Regions from separate parts of the Homo sapiens genome. Here region 2 is linked to region 1. Evidence: promoter capture Hi-C in 16 types of primary human blood cells and fetal thymus (Javierre and others, 2016). All regions are on one chromosome and are shown on one strand. The core of a region is centred on a gene start or on the middle of the fragment in contact, and the rest is flanking DNA. Distances in the headings are between cores, read along the strand shown.

Evidence for each region. The method cuts DNA at HindIII sites, captures the fragments that hold promoters and counts their contacts. A CHiCAGO score of 5 or more calls a contact.
Region 2: a fragment that was not itself captured here is called in contact with the fragment with the promoter of TICAM2 in region 1 in 6 of 17 cell types (total CD4 T cells, non-activated CD4 T cells, activated CD4 T cells and 3 more); the score reaches 13.7 in total CD4 T cells.

The regions. Positions count from the first base shown.
Region 1 is chr5:115,599,576-115,605,383 of GRCh38, reverse strand. It overlaps TICAM2 (TIR domain containing adaptor molecule 2), which reads left to right and starts at 2,905. Exons shown (of 2, transcript NM_021649.7): 1 at 2,905-3,287. All of the region lies in intron 3 of TMED7-TICAM2 (TMED7-TICAM2 readthrough), which reads left to right. TICAM2-AS1 (TICAM2 antisense RNA 1) reads right to left here and starts at 3,229. Exons shown (of 3, transcript NR_109875.1): 1 at 2,924-3,229; 2 at 2,228-2,338. RefSeq lists a silencer at 2,914-3,413 and enhancers at 3,033-3,555, 3,504-3,583. The HindIII fragment of the contact is 4,479 bases long and covers 1-4,076 here.
Region 2 is chr5:113,602,084-113,607,891 of GRCh38, reverse strand. No RefSeq gene overlaps it. Among named protein-coding and RNA genes, the nearest start is that of YTHDC2, 91 kb to the right of the region's middle. The HindIII fragment of the contact is 1,105 bases long and covers 2,841-3,945 here.

The sequences.
Region 1 (5,808 bases), core at 1,656-4,155:
AGAATTTCTAAACCCACCAAGCCCAACATTTTGGGAATGGGAAGCAAAAATTATTCACGTAGATTCTTAGGTATACTATTGAACAGAAACACTCCTTCTACCCTTTGGCTCTGAGACCTGTGCATCCTGATAGTGGGGAGACAGCTCCATATATTGACTGCTTATTAAATTAATGTACCACATTCTATAGGACACCACCCTACCTTTTCATGATGTTGCCTCCCAGATATCTCTGTAACCGAGCTCTCATTTTGCCACTCAGCTGTTCTATCAAGCTAGTTACTTTAGGAGATAAGCATGTGTTAAAACCATTGAATTCACTTCCATTGCCATAAACTGTGTACCTGGTTGGAAGAAATGTTTTTGGGATTCCTATGCAATGGATAAAACCTTCAGAAATGTCAAGAATATTAGTGCCAGTGGAAACACTGCAGGCAGAGAATGCAGATTTATACCTTGAATGTGAATTATCTTTGTGAAGACAAAGTGCTACCTATTTCTTATGGAAATTGCCCAATGTAACCATCATGTTACCGGGTTGCCAGCAAGTCTCATTGACAGTAATGCCATATTAGGAACCCAGCCTTGGAAATGTAGTCACACTCCACGTTGTTGCCAGGTTGGGCATTCGGCAATGATAGTAGCCAAATAATGTAGGTAAGGAGAAGACCATACTATTGAACCTCTGTCACTGCTTTGATAGCCACTTGGTACATGGGCCCATTAACCAAGCCCTGGGTTGGCTGGAGAAAAAGACTGACATCTACCAGACAATTCATCTTGTTCCGCTTATTATTGAAAATCTTCTCCACCTGATGCATCCTGTTAGGCACTTATGGGGGATATGAATATCTTCACATGCCCTCACCACTCCAAGAGGGTTATCTGTAAGTCTCACGGACAGATCTTTTACAAATTTTCCATTTTGTTCTTTCCAAGAACCTAAAAGCTGGACAATCCATTAGACACTGCCTGTAAGTCAGTATATTTATCAGTTTGTCATGTCGTCCCCTCCTTTCTTGAATGTGAATAACCAGGTATGTAGCTAGAAATTGCCCACTAGGAAGATTCGCTGTCCCCATTAGCAATGCACGGATCTGAAATTGTCTCACTTCTTTACATATCTGTCTGTCTCCCAGATTAGACTATAAAATCTCCATGAGAACTAGGACTGTGTCTCCTGTTCGCACAATATCCCTAATGTCTAGCACATAGAATATATTCTAAACATATGTGGCGTAAGTGATTGATGCATTTTCTTGAACATTTGGAGAGAAAATGTTAAGCAATTAAACTTGTAACCAATTTAAGATTTTTTTTAGTACATGTGACTGTATTATGAAGAACAATGCAAAATTTGGAGCAATTTACAAGAAGATGGAACAGTTCAAGTAAATTTGCCCATGACACTAGTGACTTCAGGCTCTTTTATGTATGCAACCTAAGTGATGAATAGGGAAGTACGTGTTTATGGAATCTGTCATTGGTGGTATTTCAGTGGGAAAATGTGAAAAGCTCTGATTTTGAAGGGTTGCCAGAGAAAGAGGAACAGGCAGAGGAAACTGAAAGAAGAATTTTTTTTTTTTTTTTTTTTTTTTGAGACGGAGTCTCACTCTGTGGCCCAGGCTGGAGTGCAGTGGCGCGATCTCGGCTCACTGCAAGCTCCGCCTCCCGGGTTCAAGCCATTCTCCTGCCTCACCCTCCCAAGTAGCTGGGACTACAGGCAGCTGCCACCACTCCCGGCTAATTTTTTGTATTTTTTAGTAGAGACGGGGTTTCACCGTGTTAGCCAGGATGGTCTCGATCTCCTGACCTCGTGATTCACCCGCCTCGGCCTCCCAACAGGCCTGAAAGAATTTTAACAAGCAGGATGAGCATAAAGGCAAAGTGGGGTTGTCAACATCAAGGAAACAGAGTGTTGGGAAACAATGGTCGACTTTGTCAATCGCCAAAGAGACTCCCAGGAAAAATGAGGGCAACAAAAGTATCAGTTGGATTTAGGAGGCCACTGCTTACCCAAAGAGTTCAGGTAGAATTGTTGGGAGGTGCAGTGGTTGGAGAATCAACTCCGTGAATAATGAATTGTGTTGACACGGTACATAATACGGTATTTCTGACTACATTGGCGGCATTTCACTAAGTAATTACTACCTGAAGTGCCTACCTTCAGTAAGGCATCCTGTTGTTGGATGGGGAAAGAGAAGGAGGAAATAACTCTTAGCTTTACCTGTACTGTGCTTCTGAGACCCAGGTATGGACCTTCACTCCCAATTTACTATCCATGGTCTCATCCGATGTTCAGTAACTGGGTTCTCCTTTGGCAGGGAGTAGGGATTGCCTGAGAATTAAAAGGGGAGGGGAGATTTCTGAACTGGACCTCTTAGGTTATGACTAGATTGGGTGCCTGAGGCAGCAATGGGGCTTTATAAGGCTTCTTTACGCTTCATTTAACTAATTGCTTTTTTGTTCTCTCTTATTCAGTGGAGTTCCAATCTGTTCGGTTGTGGAGAACGAACCTGAGAAAAAGGATCTTTCGCAGGGTAGTTTTTGGGGGCAGAGGCTGATGTGCTGCACCCCCTAATCAGGGGTATGGTTGGCTGCAGTAGTCAAGTGAGAGGGCCGCAAAGGGAAAGGAAAAGTCGAGACTATCTTAGGGAACCAGGAGAGTCGCTGTACCTCTGAAAGATCTACGGTTTGTCTGGTCTGTAAGGAGCAAACACGGTGGAATTCCTTTCCAGATTTTTCTGGGCCTCGACCTCTGGCTTTTGGGGTACATGCCAAAAAAAAAAAAAAAAAAAAAAGCGCAGGGAGAGTCCACTAGCCTCGGTGACAGTTCCCCATTGCGGTTTCCCCTCCTCCACCCTTCTTTGCGAGCTCCTTCCCTCTGCAGAGAGTTATCCCGCCACATTAACCCCTGACTCACAGCTGGACCGCCCCGGCCCGCAGCGCCACGTCCCGGGTGGGGCCTGCCACGGCAAAGCAGCAGTCCGGCCTCGAGCGGCCCCTCGGGGGCGGCGGGGTGGGCGCCAACAGCAGTCAGGCCTGACAAGCGGCGACCTCCAAGGGTGAGGCCTCTGCGGGCCCCCGACTCACGCGCGTCCGGGCTCTGCAAGCGCGGTGGGGAGCAGGCTGCTGTGGTCGCGGGGACTGGGTTGCGGCGCGCCGCGTACGGGACGGCCCCAAACTCTCGACGCCCGGGGCAAGACGCCCACCCCCTGGGCGCTCTCGCTGGGCCAGAAAGGAAGACAGAAAAGCCGCGGGCTGACTGTGGTGGCGCTCGCCTGCAGGCAAGTACCGGGCGCTAGGGCGGGGGCCGCCGCCGGGGGCGCGGGGTGGGCTGGGGCCAGGCCGCCAGGGGCGCGGGGTGGTCTGGGGGCCAGGCCGCCTGCGCTACCTCCCCAGCCTACCCGACCCGACGGCGCGGGTGCTGGCGCTGTTGTCCCCAGCGGGGCGGGCAGGCCTTTCCGTCACTTGGCTTACTCTGAAGGGAAAATCCACACAGCTGTCTGCCTTTTTGTTTCATTTTGACTAGAAAACCCATTTTCGAAAAGACACCTCAGAACCATAAGCAAATAGCCCAGAGTCTTAAATGCTCTAAAGGCTCTGCATGAGCCCCTGCCAGGCACACAGAGCCAGTGCTGGAGGTTTTGGCATGGGTTTTCCTACTTGGCTTTTTGTGCAAAGCTAATTTGGATAAAAATAATTTGACTGGCAGCTGTGAGCTAGTTTTCAGTGTATTAGGACCTCTCCAGCTTTCCACGGTAGTAAACTTCTTAAAGAAAGTATTTTAAAATATTCTCATATTTATTATTATTTTTTAATTTATCCTTTTAATTTTGAAAAGCAAGGGTGGGAAAGGCTATATGATCTGGAGGTAAAAATACACCATTATATAGAGTTGAAGTGTCATCCCCTGAACCCACATTGCACGTCTACACAGGAGAAGAACTTGTCCTTCTCCAAGTGTTTAGTATTCCTTAGATTAGTGTTTTTCAAACAAGCCTGATGGTAAGACGCATTTGGGACTTTTGTTTAAAATGCATCCCCCCACCTCTGAAGGTTTAATTTGGTAAGCTTGATTTCCAGAATCTGTATTTCTATTTTTTTATTGTTTAATTTAATTTTATGTTCTGGGATACATGTGCAGGACTTGCAGGTTTGTTACATAGATAAACGTGTGCCATGGTGGTTTGCTGCACCTATCAGCCCATCAATCCTTACATTTTAATATTTTGAAGTAGTAGGATGGTTATAAATGGAGTTAAGCAACTCCACTTTATATCTCATTCAAATCAGAAAATAGATAAGCAGGTATAGAATATTGACACCTACATTTGAAGCAAAGTAAATGTGACATGTACGCCTTACCGTATGGAACTTGAAGTATAAACCATGTTTACACTGTTGAATCATGGGCATCTGTGTTGAGTCATTTGTTCCTTATGCTATTCTTAAAATGTATTCATTTAACAAATATCTGCTGTTAAATCTTCTGTCTTTAATCCCCCCTAGACCACACATCCCATTCTAGGTCCCGCTCCCCTACTTTGCTTCTTTTTATAACAAACAAAAATCCTCTTTGAAAGATTTAATCTAAGTCTCCATTTTCATTTTCCCTGTTTCTTCCTACCCCCTCTCATCTGAGGCTTTTTGTCCCCATTACCCCCTGCATGGTCCTGATGTTGCCAATGACTGTCTTGTGAAATCCAGTGTCTGTGCACAGTTCTCATCTTTCCTGACCCCTCAGTAACATTTGATCACTCCCTCCTCAATATTCTTTTTTCTTCACTAATGTTCTTCACTAATATTCTTTCTTCTTCACTTGGCTTCCAGGTCACCATATTCTGCATTTCATTCTGCTTCATTGTGTCTCCAGGCTTCCCCACCACTAAATCTTAGTATGCCACAGAGTTCATTTCTTGGCCATATTTTTCTAGCCATACTTTCCCCCAGGACAATTTGTATCCCAAGCCATATTCCTTGGCTATAAATAATATCTATCAGCTGATGACTTCCAAAATTTTATTCCTAGCTTTAGTTCGCTTCTGAGCTCCAGATGTATGTGTATGTCCAGCTGTTTACTCAGCATCTCCACTTGGAAGTCTGATAGGCATTTAAATTTAGTATGGACAGATAGAACTACTGATGCCAGATTCACCAAGTTCTCCCTCTGTTTCCCCTCAGCTCCCTCCCTTATCTCAATAAACAGCCTCAGTTACTGCCATTCAAGTAGGCCGGAATTCTAGGAATTTACTCTTGACTTCTCTTTTTAGGTCAGACTCCGCATCCAAGCATCCAACAAAATCTGTTGACTCTACCCAGATCTGCCCACCTCTCTCTCCCTCTCTAAGCTAAGCCACAGTCCTCTCCTACCTACATGATTGAGAAGTCTCTGCCTCTGCCCTTGCTCCTCTACAGTCTTTTCCAAATAGCAGTGATTTTTGTCATACATACTCAGAACTTTCATTTCCCTTCAAAACCTTCTGGTGGCTTCTTATCAGAATCACAAAAAAAAAGAAAGAAAAAAAAAAGAAAAGAAAAACAGGCTTACAATGGCTTTAAAGCCCTGTGTGATCTAGTCCCTGACTAGTTCTCTGAACTCATCTCCTGACTTCCCTCTCATCCACTCCACTGTAGTAACACTGATTGTGCTGCTGTTGCCTTTGCCTGCAGCTGGTGTCTGCTAGACCATTGCACACTGTACTCCCTCACTTCTCTGTTAGCATGCTGCCTCAGGGGTTACTGTGCTATTGCAGCAAGATCTCTTTTGCTGCTGGGCCTGTGCGGTAGGTTGCTATTAAATACTGA
Region 2 (5,808 bases), core at 2,144-4,643, 2.0 Mb after region 1:
GGTTCCCTGCTCCTGAGCTCAACTCTAAGCGATGCACTTTAAGGTTTGGGGAACTTGACATTTCTCTGTTTGGAGGAACATTATAAAAGAAGGAATAGGAGCCATTTTAAACTGTGAAAGAAGGAAGGAGAAATACCATAGAAAAGTCTAGCGGTTTGGGTAGTAGAACTGGAGGAGCTGACATGTGGATGGGGGGCAGGAAGGGCCACAGCATCTGGAAGTTGCATTCGAGGGTTGCATTCAAGGGTTTCCTGAGGGTTTGTTTCTCTAATTTTGGGGAATCATTTTCTTTGGGCCCTCCTGATATGACTGGTAAAAAAGCTGAGTTGATTGTGCAACACTTGCAAAGTTCTAGTAAGAAGGCCATGCCCTTGTGCATAAGAAAGTGACCCACTTTTTCTTTAAAATCTAGTGTCAAAGGAGTCCCAGTGCTTCAGAACACATTCCAGAGGAATTCAGGCTGAAGATGGTCTGTTACCTATCTAGAAAGAGAAGCAAGAAAAACGTATGCCTTTAGTCTCCTTCCTTTCCTTTGAAATGGCCCAAGGTAGAGGGAAAGACAGTGGAGGCATCCCCCCACCTGTTTTCCCTCCCTAGTTCCCTGAGCCCTGGCATTTATTAAATGTGCCACCCATGGTTGCAGGCATGACCCTCAGCATGGAACCAAAGGAACTAAGCGATTTGGGATTATGTTCACTCTTGTGACTTTAGTCCTCCACTTGTGATATCCCTTTGATTTCCTGGACTCATCTGGCCCGTGTGGCTCCCAGAAAGATGGATCTCAGGAAAAACTACATAATAGTTTCATGTGAGCAAGACCCATTTAATGGAGGGAGTGTACTAGATTAAACTCTATATCCTGCTATTATGGCCCATGCTAAAGCACTTACCCTTAGAGAATGGTTCCGGTGAACTTCCAGACATAAAATCTTCTTACTATTTAAGTATCGTTTTAATGGGAGGTAGAATATGTGCCTTAAAAGAACGTAGGGACCGAATGGCCATTTTCCTGCTGATGGGACGGTATCGAGACTAAAATTTGATTTTAGAGGATTTTTTCCTCCTCATTGCTGAAGGGAGAGTTTTTCCATTTACAGAAGCGCATAAAGCCTGGTCTCTAGTAGAGAGGTGCCAAAAGGGAGGAGATTTCTATTCCACTAGGTGGTGCTGTTGACCTTGAAATGCCATGTGCCCTCCAGCCCAAGGGCGGAGAAATGCTCACAGTGGTGGGGCGGGGGAGTGGTGGAGACCCTCAGTTCCTAGAAAAATCACAAAAACGACATTCCCTTGAGCTATATTCCTGGTTACTGCAGCATCCTACATTTCCTGATCTTGCCTAATAGGATTACTTCCCTGAACTGTAAAAATTCCCACCACATTGCATACAGAGAGAGGAGACATGGCAGTCGCAGACAGGAAAGGAGGAAATTATGATAAGTAAAGCTGGAGATCCTGTTGCCGATGCCTGATTGAGCAGTTGGAGGCGGGTCAGTCCAGAAGCCTTCAGATAACACCAGGGTGTAGACCTGGCCAGAAATCCTCCAGGACTTATTCCAGCCCCATGCAATGGCTAGGTTTCCATGAAGGGAAATCAGTTCAAAACACAGCCAAAATGCCCAGAATGGAGGCCGACAGCCTTGAAATGAAAGGATGTCCCAGATGGGGCCCCAAAATGAAGCGGCGACATTGTCTGGGATAAATACCCGAGGTTCGTTGTTTCACGCCAAGGGATTCAAGGACATGGACACACAAGTAGAGAGTTTAAGAGCAGAGGTTTAATACGTAAAAGAAAAAGAGAATAGCTCTCTATTCTGCACAGAGAGAGGGGCACCCGAGTGGGTCTTCCAGTTTTGTGATGAAATAAACGGGGTTTTGTAGATGAGCTTGAGGAGGTGGTGTCTGATTTATATAGGAGGAGGTGGTGTCTGATTTACATAGGGCCCAAGAGATTGGTAGAACCAGTTGTTATGTTTGCATGGGGTTCAAGGAAGCTGCCCATCCCACCCTAATCTTTTATTGTGCAGATGGGCTCTCTACCTGGCCAGCGCCATGTTGTCTGTTCCTTACTGTACACGTGGTTCACAAAGGGAAGATGGAGCCACCATGTTGAACATGACTGGCCCCCAGGTAGCCTTTCTCTACTGGCACAGCTGCTGGTATTTACCTATGCAAGATTTTAGCTTGCTTAGTTATGCTTGCAGCTTGATTTTTCAGGCTGCTTTTTGTTAGAAAAGAAATGATTTGGGGGCTGCTTTTACAAAAAGGAAAGCTTACTGAGGACTTTCTTACCCTATCTGCCTAAATAATTTCCAACTCCTGTATCGAAACGACTGTACTTTTTCTACCACATTATCTTTGTGTCCTTGTGAAAAAAAATCAGTTGCCCATAGATGTTGAGTGTATTTCTGGACTTTCCATTACTTTCTACTGCTCTATGTGTCCACATTTATGTAAAAACCAGGTTGTTTTGTATACTAAAGTGTCTTAGTCTGTTTGTGTTGCTATAAAGGAATATCGGAGATGGTAATTTATTTTTTATAAAAAGGTTTATTTGGCTCATGATTCTGCAGGCTATACAAGAAGCATGGTGTCAGTATTTGCTTCTGGTGAGAGCTTCAGGCTGCTTCCACTCATGGCAGAAGGCAAAGGGGAGCCAGCTGTACAGAGATCACATGGCAAGCAAGAAAGCAAGAGAGAGGGGGATTAATCTATTCACATAGGATCTACCTTCATGACCCAAACACCTCCCATTAGGACCCATCTCCAACACTGGAAACCAAATTTCAACATCAGATTTGGAAGGGGTCAAACAAACTATATCCAAACTATAGCATAAAGCTTTGTTAAGTCTTGAATTAGATAAAAATTAAGTATGGGCCCTCTAAAGTTGTACTTTTTCCATTGTTTTGGCTATGCTAAGGTCCTTTACATTTCCATATAAATTTTGAAATCAGCTTGCCCATGTCTACAAAAAAGCCCACTTTTGTGATTCTGATGAATCTATAGATTTTGCAGAGAACTGACTTCTTAGCAATATTGAGTCTTCCAACCCATGAAAAAGTAAATCTTTGTTTTTTAGGTCATCTTTAATTTCTCTCAGCAACATTTTGTACATTTCAGTGTATAGGTTTTTCGTATCTTTTGTCAGTTATTCCTAAATATTTATCTTTTTTGATGCTTTGTAAATGGCATTTTTTCTTATTTTAACTTACAGTTGTTTGTTGCCAATATACAGAAATACAGCTGGGTTCTTGTATATTGATTTTGTATCCTGGAACCTTGTTAAACTCATTAATTAGTTCAAGTAGCTTTTGGTAGTGGGAAACTAATAATTTTCCCTGCCCCAGAATCTTTGTTGTGATAATATAACTTTGCTATTCCTTTGGAGAACCATTTCTTTTCTACTCTTGGTCCATGTGTTTGGGAAGACATTTAACAGAGACTAATTAGCACAGTGATTGGTGTAGAGACAATGGTGTACGTGACCAGTTCATCCAATGAAAGTAAATGCTGGAAGTTATGAGGAAGTCAATGGGAAAACATTGCTTTTTCTAGCTAGTTCAAAGTAGAATGTTACTGATTTCAAATTTAAGTCCATTGTGGTCAGAGAACACACTTTGTATGATTTGAATGCTTTTAAATTTATTGGGATTTGCTTTGTGGCCCACAACAGGTCTATCATAAGTATTATATGTGCACTTGAAAAGACTGTGTATTCTAATCCTGTTATGTGGTAAGTTCTATTAATGTTAATTAAGTCAAGTTGATGGATAGTGTTTTTCAAGCCTACTATTTTTTGCTGACTTTATGCTTACTTTTTCTAACAATTATTGAGAGACATTGAAATCTCTGACTATAATTGTCAACTTACCTATTTTTCCTTGCAGTTCTATCAATTTTCACTTAAGTCATTTTGAAGCTCTTTTATTATTAAGAGCATAAGCTTTTAGGATTATTATATCCATTGATCTTTTATTAAGTTACTGTCTTTATCCCAATTATATTCTTTGTTCTGAATTATCCTTTGTCTGACATTAATATAACCATTCTAGCTTTTTAAAAGTTAATATTAGCATGGCATAACTTCTTTCATTTTTTTAACATTTAACCTGTGTGTCTTTACATTTATGATTCATTTCTTGTAGGCATCATGTAGCTGGGTCTTGGTTTTTTATCCAATCTGACAAGCTCTCCCTTTTATTTGGAGTTTTTGGACCATTCCACTTAATATGATGTATTAGTCTGTTCTTACGCTGCTAATAAAGACATACCCAAGACTGGGTAATTTATAAAGAAAAAGAGGTTTAATGGACTCACAGTTCCACATGGCTGGGGAGGCCTCACAATCATGGTAGAAGGTGAAGGCAAAGGCAAGTCTTAACATGGCAGCAGGCAAGAGTGCCTGTGCAGGAAACTGCCCTTTATAAAACCATCAGATCTCGTGCAGCTGATTCACTATCATGAGAACAGCATGGAAAACCCACCCCCGTGATTCAGTTACCTCCCACCAGGTCCCTGCCATGACACACGAGGATTATGGAAGCTACAATTCAAGATGAGATTTAGGTGGGGACCCAGCCAAGCCATATCATAAGATTACTAATTTTTTCAGTTTGAGTCTATTGTCTGTTTTCTATTTTTGTTGTTGTCTTTGTCTCTATTTGTTATTTCCATTTGTTTTTTGTACCATTTTCCCTTTTTTGAAGTTTTGCAAGTCTGGTGGGAACAGGCACTATTTTTGGCCATTTATAAGCACCAGGCACTGTTTTCTTTAATCCTTTCAGATGGTTCTTTTCCTGACTTCAGGTAGTTTTTGCACGCATGCACTGATCAGCAGCTTGCTGAACACTCCAGAGGGACCCTCTGCAGAGAGTTGCGGTTTACTCTCTATGAAATTCTCTCATCTCTGGTCTTCTGTCTGTTCTAAGAGCTCTAGGTGCTTTGGTTTTCCCACTCTTAACTTTGTCTCCTCAACTCAAGAACTCAAGAACCAAATAAATACAGCCAAATGATTTTTTGACAAAGGTGCAAAGGCAATTCAAGAGAGAAAGGGTAGTCTTTTAAATAATAGTGATGGAACAATTGGACATTCATGTACATAAAAATGAACCTCAACCTATCTCATACTTTATCCAAAAATTAACTCAAAATGGATCATGAATCTAAATATAAAACTATAAAACTTTTAGAAAAAACAATGGAAGAAAACCTTCATAACTGGGGGTTAGGCAAAGAGTTCTCAGTATGACACCAACATCACTATCCATAAAAAAAGATATAGCTTATCAAAATTAAAAATTATAAAAAATGTTAAGGGAATGAAAAGACAAGCTACAAATAAAGTATTTTCAAGTCACATATCTGACAAAGGACCTGTATTCAGAATCTATAATGAACTCTCAAAACTAACAGTAAGAAAACAATTTTGAAATGGTCTAAAGACTTGGAGAGGAAATATAGGTGACTTACCCAAAGAGGATATATGGTTGACAAATAAGCACATGCAAAGATGTTCAACATTAGTGGCTATTAGAGAAATACCACTTAACCCCATGATCAGATACTATTGCACACCTAATAGAATGGTGAAAATAAAGAATACCGACAATAGTAACAGCTATCAACAATGTGAAACAACTGGACCTCTCTGACATTACTGGGAGGAATGCAAAATGATATAGCTATTCTCAAAAATAGTGAATACTATTCAGCAATAAAAGAAAATAAAATGAATTGTAGATATAAACAATAATTTGGATGAATCTCAAAGACATTATGCTAAGTGAAAAAGCCAGTCTCAAAAGGTTA